Linked DNA regions of Homo sapiens: regions 1 and 2 are each linked to region 3. Evidence: promoter capture Hi-C in 16 types of primary human blood cells and fetal thymus (Javierre and others, 2016). All regions are on one chromosome and are shown on one strand. The core of a region is centred on a gene start or on the middle of the fragment in contact, and the rest is flanking DNA. Distances in the headings are between cores, read along the strand shown.

Region 1 (3,920 bases), core at 1,218-3,717, 210 kb after region 3:
CACGCCATTCTCCTGCCTCAGCCTCCCAAGTAGCTGGGACTACAGGCGCCCGCCACTACGCCCGGCTAATTTTTTGTATTTTTAGTAGAGACGGGGTTTCACCATTTTAGCCGGGATGGTCTCGATCTCCTGACCTCATGATCCACCCGCCTCGGCCTCCCAAAGTGCTGGGATTACAGGCGTGAGCCACCGCGCCCGGCCAATTTCTTTTCTTTTTTCTTTTTTTTTTTGAGGCAGTTTTGCTCTTGTTGCCCAGGCTGGAGTGCAGTGGTGCAATCTTGGCTCACCACAACCTCCGCCTCCTAGGTTCAAGTGATTCTCCTGCCTCAGCCTCCCGAGTAGCTGGGACTACAGGCATATGCCACCATGCCCGGCTAATTTTATATTTTTAGTAGAGACGGGGTTTCACTATGTTGGCCAGGCTGGTCTCGAACTCCTGACCTCAGGTGATCCATCTGCCTTGGCCTCCCAAAGTGCTGGGATTACAGGTGTGAACCACTGTGCCAGGCCTCGGAGAAGGGTTATTATTTAAACTAGAAACTAAATGTCTCCCAAAGTTAGCTCGGTTCGAGCCAGGAATGATTAAGGGCAGTCTGAAGATTAAATGGAAGATGAGGGTTGGTTAGATCAGATCTCTTTCACTGTCATTATTTTCTCACTGTTACAATTTTTGCAAAGGTGGTTTCAGCAATAAAAATATTTCACAAATTTTACAAAAGCAAAGGACCATGAGGACATTGTTGGGGACCCTCCCTGAACCAAGGAAGAGACTGTGACTCTTCCTTGGTTCAGGGAAGGTCCTGAACCAAATCGAGGGTCGGTAAAGCTTAAGCTCCATTATTTCCAAATTTGTGTCACCTCTGGTGACAGCACAAGGAAGAAACACAAAACAAGAACGCAGCATAGGGAGTTGGGGCTGGGCATTGCAATTCTCAATAGGATGTTGAGTGGATGGCATCAGAGCAGACACCTGAAGGTGCCATGCAGATACCGATGGGGAAGGGAATGGGAGTGGGGGTGCCACTGCATTCGATTCTAGACTTGGATAACAGTGAGTGCAAAATCCCAGAGGTGGAGCGTGCCTCAGTGGGAAAAGCAAGGAGGGCGGCGTGACAAAGGGACCCAGAGAGTCCTGGTCACACAGCAAATCAGTGGCGGAGTAGGGACTGGAACTCGGATTTCCACTAGGTGTTGTGTATGGGCAGATGGCTAAACTAAGGCCTCTCCTTGACTCATACACCGGTTTTTATTGGTTTGCTTTATAACCCCATCTCTACCTTGAGGGTTTCCCCTGGCCTCGAACCCGGTGTACTCAAGAGCTGCCCATGTCCCAGGCTTCGCGACACAGCTGGCCTCATCTTTGCCTGCTCCAACTTTAATGTCCAAAGTTGGGTGGCTCCTGTTCTCCATTCCCTCTTACTGCATGGGACCAAATCTCAATTTTTTTTTTTCTTTTTTTTTTTAGACGGAGTCTTGCTCTGTCGCCCAGGCTGGAGTGCAGTGGCGCGATCTCGGCTCACTACAGCCTCTGCCTCTCAGGTTCCACCGATTCTCCTGCTTCAGCCTCCTGAGTAGCTGGGATTACAGGCGGACGCTACCACTCCCGGCTAATTTTTGTATTTTTAATAGAGACGGGGTTTCGCCATTTCGGCCAGGCTGGTCTCGAACTCCTGATCTCAGATCATCCACCCGCCTCGGCCTCCCAAAGTGTAGGGATTACAGGCGTGAGCCATCGCGCCCGGCCAAATCTCAATTTTTATCCCCAGTAAGTTTAGTCTTGTGAAGTCCGAACGTTTGAATAATTTACTCGCTGCAGGCAAACCGCCTACAACTAAATCCATCAGGCCCCCGTATCCGAATCTTCCTTCACGCGAGAAGCCGGCCATCTTTTGTGTAGCATTCTTTCTGGTTCCTCTAACTTTGCCTCTCCTTTACGCCAAATACGTGTCCTTATATCTGAATCTACACCACTATTATAGATTCACCTTCTTTGAGAAGTCCCTATTTGAAGAGAGGAAAATTCAGGCTACTTGTAACCCTCTTATTCTTTTTAGACGGAGTTTTCCCTCTTGTTGCCCAGGCTAGAGTGCAATGGCGCGATCTCGGCTCACCGCAACCTCCGCCTCCCGGGTTCAAGCGACTCTCCTGCCTCAGCCTCCCGAGTAGCTGGAATTACAGGCATGCGCCACCACTCCCGGCTAATTTTGTATTTTTAGTAGAGACGGGGTTTCTCCATATTGGTCAGGCTGGTCTCAAACCCCCGGCCTCAGCCTCAGGTGATCCGCCCGCCTCGGCCTCCCAAACTGGTGGGGTTACAGGTGTGAGCCACGGAACGCGGCTCCTCTTCCTTCTGGATATGGCTGTCTCAGATGGCCAGAGGCCTCGGAAAGGCTTCCGGTTTCCCGGCAGGCCCGAGTGGGGCTGAACTTCCGGCCTCAGGACGCAGGCGCGGGCCGCTCATTTCGCTCTTTCCGGCGGTGCTCGCAAGCGAGGCAGCCATGTCTTATCCCGCTGATGATTATGAGTCTGAGGTAAGGTGGCCGTAAGGGCGCGGTGGGCTCCACGACGGGGTGATCTCTGGGACCACTGGATGTGGGTCCCGGCGCGAGGCAGCTTCCGGGTCGCGGCCAGCTCCGGCCGACCTCCCGCCCGGCCCTCAGGCTGCTCCCACAGTTCCCGGTCCCTAGACAACCCTGGCTCTGCCCGCCCACTTCGCGTGTTCGATTGGCTTGTCCTTCCCCTTTCTAAGACCGGAGACTAAGGCCTGTTAGACGTTTCTGTGTTTCTGCACCTGAGTTTTTTTGGTCTAGGCTCCGTCTGGTCAAATCTCGCTGATTCCCACAGCCTCTTGTCCTTTGCTCCACCTCATTGCACCCGTAATGTTGTATTGTCATTGTCTGTTTACTGTCCCTTTTCTCTAAGGCGTGTGAGTTCCTCAAAGGCAGGCACAGTGTCTTATTCGCCTCTGTATCCTTAGCTCTCTGCTTGGCATCTAGACTCTAGGATGAGCGTTTTGAATTCACGACTTGGCGGCTGTCCTTGACTGTGTCTCTTTCCTTCTAGGCGGCTTATGACCCCTACGCTTATCCCAGCGACTATGATATGCACACAGGTGAGACCACGGGTTAGGCTGGCTGAGTACTCGTAGGGATCAGTTCCTTTGGAATGTCTTAGAACCAGCTCTGACAGGCATCAAAAATTGCTCTTTGATGGTCCAGGTTTGGAGTCAGTCATTAGCTGCCAGTGCGAGGGGTTTTATAAAGCCTAATAAACCAGGCTTTTTATCATAGTCCACCTCAGTCTTGGAAGAGAAGGATTACTTACCTGGCTATGGTTTTCTTGTGTAAACTATTAGCCAAATAAGAAAAGCTTTTTTGTTTTTGTTTTTGTTTTTGTTTTTGAGATGGAGTTTCCCTCTGTCCCCCAGGCTGGAGTGCAGTGGTGCGATCTCGGCTCACTGCAACCTCCGCGTCCCTCGTTCAAGCAGTAGTTCTCTTGTCTCAGCCTCCTGAGTAGCTGGGATTACAGGCGCCCACCACCATTCCCAGCTAATTTTTAAATTTTTTTAATAGAGACGAGGTTTCGCCGTGTTGTCCAGGCTGGTCTTGAACTCCTGACCTCAGGTGATCCACCCGCCCCAACCTCCCAAAGTGCTGGGATTACAGGCGTGAGCCACCGCGCCTGCCCCAAGGAAGAAAATCTTGATGTGAAAAATTTAAGTAATTCAAACCAAGCCCGAATGAAATCTTTTTAGGAGGTGTCTGAGGTTTCCTGAAACGTTATAGTGACTTGACTTAGTAGTCAGTGTTATCCATTGTTCTAAGTACTTTGTATGAAATATTTTGTTTAATCCTTACAGCAGTTCTGTATGTTAATGTCTCCTAAAGAATAGAAAATATAGCAGAGAGGTTTATTAGTAG
Region 2 (4,147 bases), core at 792-3,291, 130 kb after region 3:
AAAAAAAAAGCGATTATCCTGCCTCAGCCTCCCAAGTAGCTAGGATTACAGGCATGTGCCACCTCGCCTGGATAATTTTGTATTTTTAGTAGAGACAGGGTTTTTCCATGTTGGTCAGGCTCTTCTCGAACTCCCAACCTCAGGTGATCCGCCCACTTCGGCCTCTCAAAGTGTTGGGATTACAGGCGTGAGCCACCGTGCCCAGCCGATATTTTATTTCTCTTTTTTTTTTTGAGACGGAGTCACTCTGTCACCCAGGCTGGAGTGCAGTGGCACCATCTCGGCTCACTGCAAGCTCCGCCTCTCGGGTTCATGCCATTCTCCTGCCTCAGCCTCCCGAGTAGCTGGGACTACAGGCACCCGCCACCACACCTGGCTAATTTTTTGTATTTTTAGTAGAGACGGGGTTTCACCATGTTAGCCGGGATGGTCCCAATCTCCTGACCTCGTGATCCGCCCGCCTCTGCCTCCCAAAGTGCTGGGATTACAGGCGTGAGCCACCGCTCCTGGCCCCAATATTTTATTTCTTCAACAAACACTTAGGTGAGGCTCACTCTGTACCTAGAAATTCTGGAAGCCCTTTTTGTCTGTTAACTCATCTAATCTTCCTGACAGCTCCATACATTAGCTACTATGACTGTCCCCATTTACAGATGAGGAAACTGAGGCACAGGAAGGTCAAGTACCTTACCAAAGCTTTTATAGCTGGACTGGGATTTGAACCAGGCAGTCTGGCTCCAGTCTGAGCTTTTAAGCCTCCCCAGTCCTGGCTGAACTTGTTTCCTCCTTGGTCAAGTCAGCAGCACCTAGCCCTCGGGGTTGGGGAGGGGTTAATGAGGTGCCTTGTGGAGTGGTTCAGCCTGCTCAGGTTTATGTAGGGCTTCTTTTCATCCATCTCACTCCCGAGGTGAGAGCCTGGTGCTGCATGAGGGCTGCAGCAGACTTGACCGTGAGATATCCACTCACACGGGCTGGACAGGGGTGAGAGTAAGGGAAGGCAAAGCAGGGGAATCGGAGAGGGCTTCCTGGAGGAGTCCGCCTCCAGGATGTAGAGGGTTTTTGTGCAGATAGGGGCTGCATTCTAGGGGCCTGAGGCAGAGAGAACCCGGGCTGCAGGGCACTATGGGCCAGGGTAGCTCTGGCTTCTGGCCCTGGGTCAGTCCAGCACCTATATCCCCAGGTGCTGCTTCGCGTAAAAGAAAACGAACTCCAGTACCTAAAGAAGGAGGTGCAGTGCCTCCGGGACGAGCTCCAGATGATGCAGAAGGTAGGTCCTTCCGCTGGGCTGGGGGCCGTCGGGGACTCTGGAGCCATCTGGATGCCATCCTGTGAGCACCTGCTCTGTGCCAAGCCCTCCACTCGCTTCATCCTTCCTCAGGCTCTCCTGTGCTTCTCCCATGTAGGTGTCATCATCCCCATTCACTGACAGGGAAACTGAGACTAAGAAAGGGGAAGTGACTTCCCCAAGGCTGTACTTGGCTTCTGTTTATTTAGCATTATTTAATTTATTGATTATTATTGAGCACCTACTATATCCTGGGCACTGTGCTAGGTGCTGGGAAGACAGATGTGAACAAAATAACCCCAAATCTCTGCTGTGGGGAGCTTGCACTCCAGTGAGAATAACCACGTTGCTAGGAGTTGGGTGGGTCAGGGTTCAGCCCAGGTCTGAGTCTGCAGCCCGCCTGGCCCACCCTTGGCTGCTATGTCACTGCCTGGTGCGCTCTGTCAGTTTGGGGCAGGAAGTGGACATGTTGGTGGCTCTGTAAGTGCACGTGAGCCAGACCGTGTTTACCGCACTTGAAGAACAGGTGGCGTGAACTCACAGGAAGGGCCCGAGCACCCAGCCAGGCTGACCTGGTTCTCATCCCAGCCACTCACTGCCCTGCGGTCTTGGTCAAAATCTTCTCCCCCGAAACAGGATGAGGATGACAATGACGCCTGTGTCCCTGGGTGGTACCAGGGAGGTGGGAGGGGTAAGCCCAGAACCCACGGCCATCTTGGGGAGCCACCTGGAGGGATGAAGCGAGGTATCTGCGGGGAGGTCTGGCTGCTGGTGCTGCCCATGTGCCCGGTTGGCAGGGCTGGAGGGAGAGACTTCATGCCCTCATACCTGCCTCCTGCCCCCCAGGACAAGCGCTTCACCTCGGGAAAGTACCAGGACGTCTATGTGGAGCTGAGCCACATCAAGACACGGTCTGAGCGGGAGATCGAGCAGCTGAAGGAGCACCTGCGTCTTGCCATGGCCGCCCTCCAGGAGAAGGAGTCGATGCGCAACAGCCTGGCTGAGTAGAGGTGGATGCCGAGGCGTGTGCCCTGCAGGGTGGGCAGGGGCTGAGGCTCTCCCACACCCGGGACTCCCTGGACCACCCCAGCCAGGCCACTTCCTTCTTCTGGCCTCCAATTCCCGTTCTGTAAAAAGGACAATGAAACCAGCAACACGGGGTTGTTGCAGAGATCCCATCAGACCCGGGCCACAGGCTGCTTCATCAGCTTAAGCCTGTTCCTCCAGAGCTGGGCGGCACAGTGCAGAGCCACAGCCTACTCAGTGCACCCCCCTTCTTGGGGCTGGAGGCAAATGCAGCGTGCACATCCCTGACCCCCACAGTGAATCTCCACTGAGCTTCACACACACACATCGCACGCTGAGGCCGGGCTTCTATCCCAGTTAGTCTTAACACTCCTTCTTGACTTAGCAGGGCTCAAAGTGGTTGGTTGGTTGGTTGGTTGGTTGGTTGGTTGGTTGGTTGGTTGGTTTTGGTTGCTTTGAGAAAGGTCTTACTCTGACACCCAGGCTGGAGTGCAGTGGTGCAATCACGGCTCACTGCAGCCTCAACCTCCTAGGCTCAAGGGATCCTCCCACCTCAGCCTTCTGAGTAGCTGGGACCACAGGCCCTCACCACCATGCCCAGATAATTTTTGCACTTTTTGTATAGGTGGGGTTTCGCCGTGATTTCCCAGGCTGGTCTCGAACTCCTGGGCTCAAGCAATACACCTGCCTCAGCCTCCCAAAATTCTGAGATTACAGGTGTGAGCCGCTGCACCTGGCCAAAGTGTTCTTATTTTTGCTTTTTCAACGCCACATCTACCTGGAGCATCCTCTTTCTGATAAGTCCTCATGGACTTCCTATGGCATGCAGGAGAGGCCACCCTATGGCTGAGCTGCTTGGGAAGGAGCCAGGAAGAGCGGATCTGGCTGTACCTTAGGGGCTGAGAGGTGGTGGAAGGACCCACTCAGCACCCTTGCTTGGCCTTGGGGTGGCCTCGCAGCCCCTCAGCCCAGGCCTCAGCCCTGCCGCACCTTGTCTTTCAGGTCCCGCCCAGCTGCAGACCCTCCAGGCTGGAGGACCAGCCGCCCTCCTTCCCTCCTGGATGGAAGTAAAAAGCCAAGCTTTCTCCCCACCCTCTGTGGGCCACACGTGCACTTGCACCCACCACACACACACACACACACACACACACACACACAGACACACAGACACATACGCACACACGTGCACACATGTACACACGGATACACACACACACACACACACTGCATATCTGAGCGCGCCCCTCGCACTGGGTCTCACCTTGCACCTTCTTCAGGATTTTATATGTGAAGAGATTTTTATATAGATTTTTTTCCTTTTTTTCCAAAACACTTTATACTTTAAAAAAAAAAAAAAAAAGCAATTCCTGGTGGCTGTGTGCCTCCAACCCTGGTCCCCCTCTGTCTCCAGCCACCCTCTGCTTGGGCTTCTGAGCTGGTGGCCCTGGCCCAGAGGTCTGGCGGAGGCCCAGGCAGCAGCCATGGCGGGGTGTCTCTACAGGGGAGAGGCGGGAGCCTGCCACCCTCTTCCTGCCCTACCTCCTACTAACACTTCCTGCCCCATTTGGACCCGTACCATGGGGCTCAGGACAGAGGGAGCTAGCAGCTGGCCTCCATGGCCCCACAGCCTCCTTCGAGGCTGTGCTGGGTGCAGAACCGCCAGAGCCACCCAAAAGGTGTTTCTCTTCTGCTCCCTGAACCTCTTAACTTAATAAAACGTTCCAGCAGCTCTGGTGTCCTAGATGGCTGGCAGAACAGGAATGGAGATTGGGGTTTCTTGAAGTGGCTTCCCCACTCACACCCTACCCACACCCCACCCTTCCTAAAGCAGCGGCC
Region 3 (3,666 bases), core at 1-2,500:
CAATGAGTCCTGCCTCATTAGGGAGGAGAGAAGCAGCCAGTGAGTGTGCCAGGCCCTGGGCTAGGTGCTGGGAGTATGGAGATGTGTGGGGCCAAGGTCCTGCCTCTGAGAGGCGCCCAGTCTGCACCGGCACACAGTCTGCACCGGCACACAGTAGTGGCTCAAATAGTCTCAAACTAAACTGAAACTAACAAAGCAAAGTGCAGAGGGTGTGGCAGGACTCTGGGGCACACCCTCCCCTCTTCCCCACGCCTGCGGCTCCTGATGCCACAGGGGTGCAGGGTAAGGAGAGCCTACTGTTTCCTAAAGGCGCTCACATCTTGTAAAACCAGCAGTTATGGAGCACTTACTGTATGCCTAACTCTGTGTTGAGTGGAGGGCCAAAGAGGAGAACTACTGAGTTTGGGGGCAGTCAGAGCAGCACCTACATCATTGCCCTACAAGAAGGAAGGGGGACTGAGGCTGTTTGCCAGGAGGAATGAGAGGAGACGGGCTTCACAGATGGAGCAAACTGCCAGGAGATGTGGAGAACAGGGTGTCGCGAACCGCTCTGGGAGGGTTCCTGGTGGCTGAGGGGTGGCACGCACCTCCCTTAAAGGGAGCTGGCAGGGGTGTCTTGTCCACTCTGCAGAATGGGCAGGCCCAGGACAGCTGGCCCATCAGACCATTAGAAACAGCGAGTCCGGAGTTCCAGGGGCTTGTCCACGGCCACACAGCAGCCCGTGGCCCCAGGAAGCCAAAGCTCCCAGCCAGTCATCCAGTGGTGGGGGGTTTAGTTCCAGGGGGCCAGAGGTCCTCTGCGGAAGAGAGTGCAAGGCAGTATCCGCGGCAGGCCCAGAGAGGCCAGGACAGGTCAGAAAGGCCTACCCCTCTTTCGCTTGGTACCCTTTCCTCTTTGCGAGGGATGCAAAGGTTATTTATACTTCGGGTCTGCAGGCTGCGGGTGGGGCAGGCACCCCGCCTGGGGCGGGTTGCGGGCGCAGGGGCAGGAATGGGCTTACCTGCTTCCCGCCACCGGGGCTGGGCGGGGCGCTGCGGGGAGGAGGAGCCGGGCACAACCTGTGGACGGCCGCGGCCGGCGGACACACAGCAGCGGGGGCCCGGCCGGGGGTCGCCCGGGGGCCCGGAAGCCGGGGAAGAGCGAGGAAACCAACTTGGAGAGAGGAGTGACCTGGGGGCCGGGGGCGGAGTCGTGAGCGGGGGAGGAGAGAGCCGGCCGCCAGCAAGAGCCGCGCGGCGGCCCAGGAAGCGAGAGCGCCGCCCACCCATCCGGGGCAAGAGCCGCGCCGCAGGAGAGGCAGGCTGGACCGGGGGCTCCCCGGGCCCGCGACCCCCGCCGTGACCCCGCAGCCCCCAGCTCGCCCCCAAGATGATGAAGAGGCAGCTGCACCGCATGCGGCAGCTGGCCCAGACGGGCAGCTTGGGACGGTGAGTGTCACCCGCTTCCAGCCCCACTCTTACCCCGGCAGGACTTGAGGGGTCGTAAAAGGGTCGGGGGAGACGGGGGTGGGGGAGGCTGGGGACAGCTGGGCAGCCACCCTCTGAGCGGCCAGACTCCTGCTCTCTCTTCCTCCTCTCTGAACGCCGCCCCCGTCTCTCGGGCAGAGCTGGAGGAGCAAGGGTGGCCTTTGGGGGAAGGGATGCCCCCCCTTACCGGATTGGAGGGGGCTTCAGGCGGGAGAATGCTCTCTGCCCTAGGACGCTGGGACTTCTCTGCCTCCACGAGTCTCTAAGTGGATGGTCCTCCTGACCTCACTTGTCCCCTCTGGACAATGGGACAGTTCACCACCTCTGCTTGCTGGGCCGGGGAGGGAGGAGGGTCGATTAGGGCCACAGACCTGGGGCGAGGGGAGGAGATGGGTCCTGGCCTGGTGGGAGGAGGGGCCTGCCCCTGGCCTGCAGCGTCCCTCCCCCTCCCCCTCCCCCCAGCCCAGGGGCCTCCTGCTTCTGTCTCGTTTCTGCTTTTCCTGGACTCAGGTGGAAATATCCCCAGGTCTCCCAGCTCCCACCCCCAGCCTCTGAGCCGGTGGCACGGAGGCCGGAAGTTTGGGGAGCCTCTCAGAGCCTGTCTTCTCTGCTCCTCTTCCCCCAGCCTCAGGAGTTCCCCATTCTCTGGGTCCAGGGAGGGGACTGGGTGTCCAGAGACCTGGTTCTAGTCTCACACTGGCACAGATGCCTACATAGCCTGGACAGTCAGACCACCTTGCAGTGGGCCTTGGCATCCCCCATGTGTCCCCAGGTGGGGGCCAAGGGCCTGTGCACCCCTGCCCACAGCTGTAGTCCAGAGTGCTGTGTGACTGTGCCTAGGAGTCTGAGCTCCTGCACTTCCCGTTCTTGGGGCCAGCTAATACTCCTCATCCCGGGGTGGGCTGAGGATTTGGGAGTGGGCAGAAAAGAGGCTTCTGTGTCCCAAAGCTGGGCCCCGGGTGGGTCTCTCAGCCTCCCCTTTAGTTTCATCTGTCCGCCCTCTCTCAGGACACAGCCCTGGGTGGAGGAGGAAAAACCCATGTATCCTATTCCCACCCCCATGGAATGTGCTCCGACTGGGATGAAGCAACTGGGCCACCCAGGGCAGGCCTCAGCTGGGAGGGACAGTGGAAGCACTGGGGTCCAGGTGCCCTGCTGCGGGGAAGGGAAGTAGGGGGCGTTCTAACCCAGGCAGGCTCAGCAGAAGCACTCTCCCCCCCCCCCCCACCACTCCCCGCAGCACCCCGGAGACCGCTGAGTTCCTGGGTGAGGACCTGCTGCAGGTACGTGCCTGGGCCGGGCAGGTGGGAAGGCAGGCCTGTGCAGGCTGTCTCGGAGCAGAGGGCCGGGGCGGGGACGCCAGGTAGGGGCCTGGGTTGAGTCATTCCTCAAGCTGTTGGCCATGGGGTCCCCAGGGGACAGGAGAAAGTTTCCTGCTCAGGGGGAGACAGCCTCTCTTGATCCTTAACCTCCATACCTCCTTCCCAGGTAGAACAGCGGCTGGAGCCGGCCAAGCGGGCAGCCCACAACATCCACAAGCGGCTGCAGGCCTGTCTGCAGGGCCAGAGCGGGGCAGACATGGACAAGCGGGTGGTGAGTGGGGGGTCCCGGGAAGGAGGGGCCTGAGCAGGAGACTTCCATCCAATGGGGAAGCAAGGTCGGGGCTGGGGTTTCCTTGCCAGTCTGAGTGTCTGGCACCAAGGGCATGGAGACTGCTCTGTTCCAAGGCCCCTCTGGCACTGCACTCAAGAGGCCCTATACCTTCCCCATCACCTTTACCCCACTTCCCTGTGCACCAGTTCCCATAAGCCAAGGCCAGGCTTCTGACAGCACCTGAACTTCTCTGTCCAATCAGTGCGCAAGAGCAGGCTGTCAATGGGGCGGCCTCAGAGGGTTTCCTGAAGGAGGTAGCAATTGAGCTGGCTTTTGAGGGATACACGTTTATTAATCAAGAGGCAGCGTTTATTGGCTGATAACCGCCAGCTTGTTACTAACATATGAGTGCACTGTCTCATGGAACACTGGCACAACCCTAGGGGCAGGCATTGCTTTACACATGAGGAACTGGAGGCTCAGAGATAAAGTCACTTGTCCAAGGTCACATAGCTAGTAAGTGGCAGAACTGAGGTTTGAACCCTGGTCTCTGATCCCAGAGCAGGCATTCCCCGTAACTCCAGATGGGGTGGGAGTGTGGGGCCA

The links. The method cuts DNA at HindIII sites, captures the fragments that hold promoters and counts their contacts. A CHiCAGO score of 5 or more calls a contact.
Region 1: the fragment with the promoter of EIF3L here is called in contact with the fragment with the promoter of SH3BP1 in region 3 in 1 of 17 cell types (erythroblasts); the score reaches 6.7 in erythroblasts.
Region 2: a contact is called between a fragment that was not itself captured here and the fragment with the promoter of SH3BP1 in region 3, in 2 of 17 cell types (M0 macrophages and endothelial precursors). The highest score is 5.8, in M0 macrophages.

The regions. Positions count from the first base shown.
Region 1 is chr22:37,846,952-37,850,871 of GRCh38, forward strand. It overlaps EIF3L (eukaryotic translation initiation factor 3 subunit L), which reads left to right and starts at 2,468. Exons shown (of 13, transcript NM_016091.4): 1 at 2,468-2,531; 2 at 3,064-3,112. The coding sequence starts at 2,499. MIR659 (microRNA 659) reads right to left here and starts at 823; the gene lies at 727-823. It also overlaps a transcript of ANKRD54 not described here. RefSeq lists enhancers at 1,587-2,109, 2,110-2,632, 2,633-3,154. The HindIII fragment of the contact is 2,543 bases long and covers 825-3,367 here.
Region 2 is chr22:37,770,470-37,774,616 of GRCh38, forward strand. It overlaps TRIOBP (TRIO and F-actin binding protein), which reads left to right. Exons shown (of 24, transcript NM_001039141.3): 22 at 1,181-1,267; 23 at 2,132-2,295; 24 at 3,314-4,147. The coding sequence ends at 2,293. Among named protein-coding and RNA genes, the nearest start is that of H1-0, 33 kb to the right of the region's middle. The HindIII fragment of the contact is 2,695 bases long and covers 695-3,389 here.
Region 3 is chr22:37,638,419-37,642,084 of GRCh38, forward strand. It overlaps SH3BP1 (SH3 domain binding protein 1), which reads left to right and starts at 1,251. Exons shown (of 18, transcript NM_018957.6): 1 at 1,251-1,428; 2 at 2,708-2,750; 3 at 2,956-3,060. The coding sequence starts at 1,370. It overlaps PDXP-DT (PDXP divergent transcript), which reads right to left. Exons shown (of 6, transcript NR_109952.1): 6 at 3,414-3,666. RefSeq lists silencers at 1-218, 849-998, 1,029-1,468. The HindIII fragment of the contact is 8,436 bases long and covers 1-3,666 here.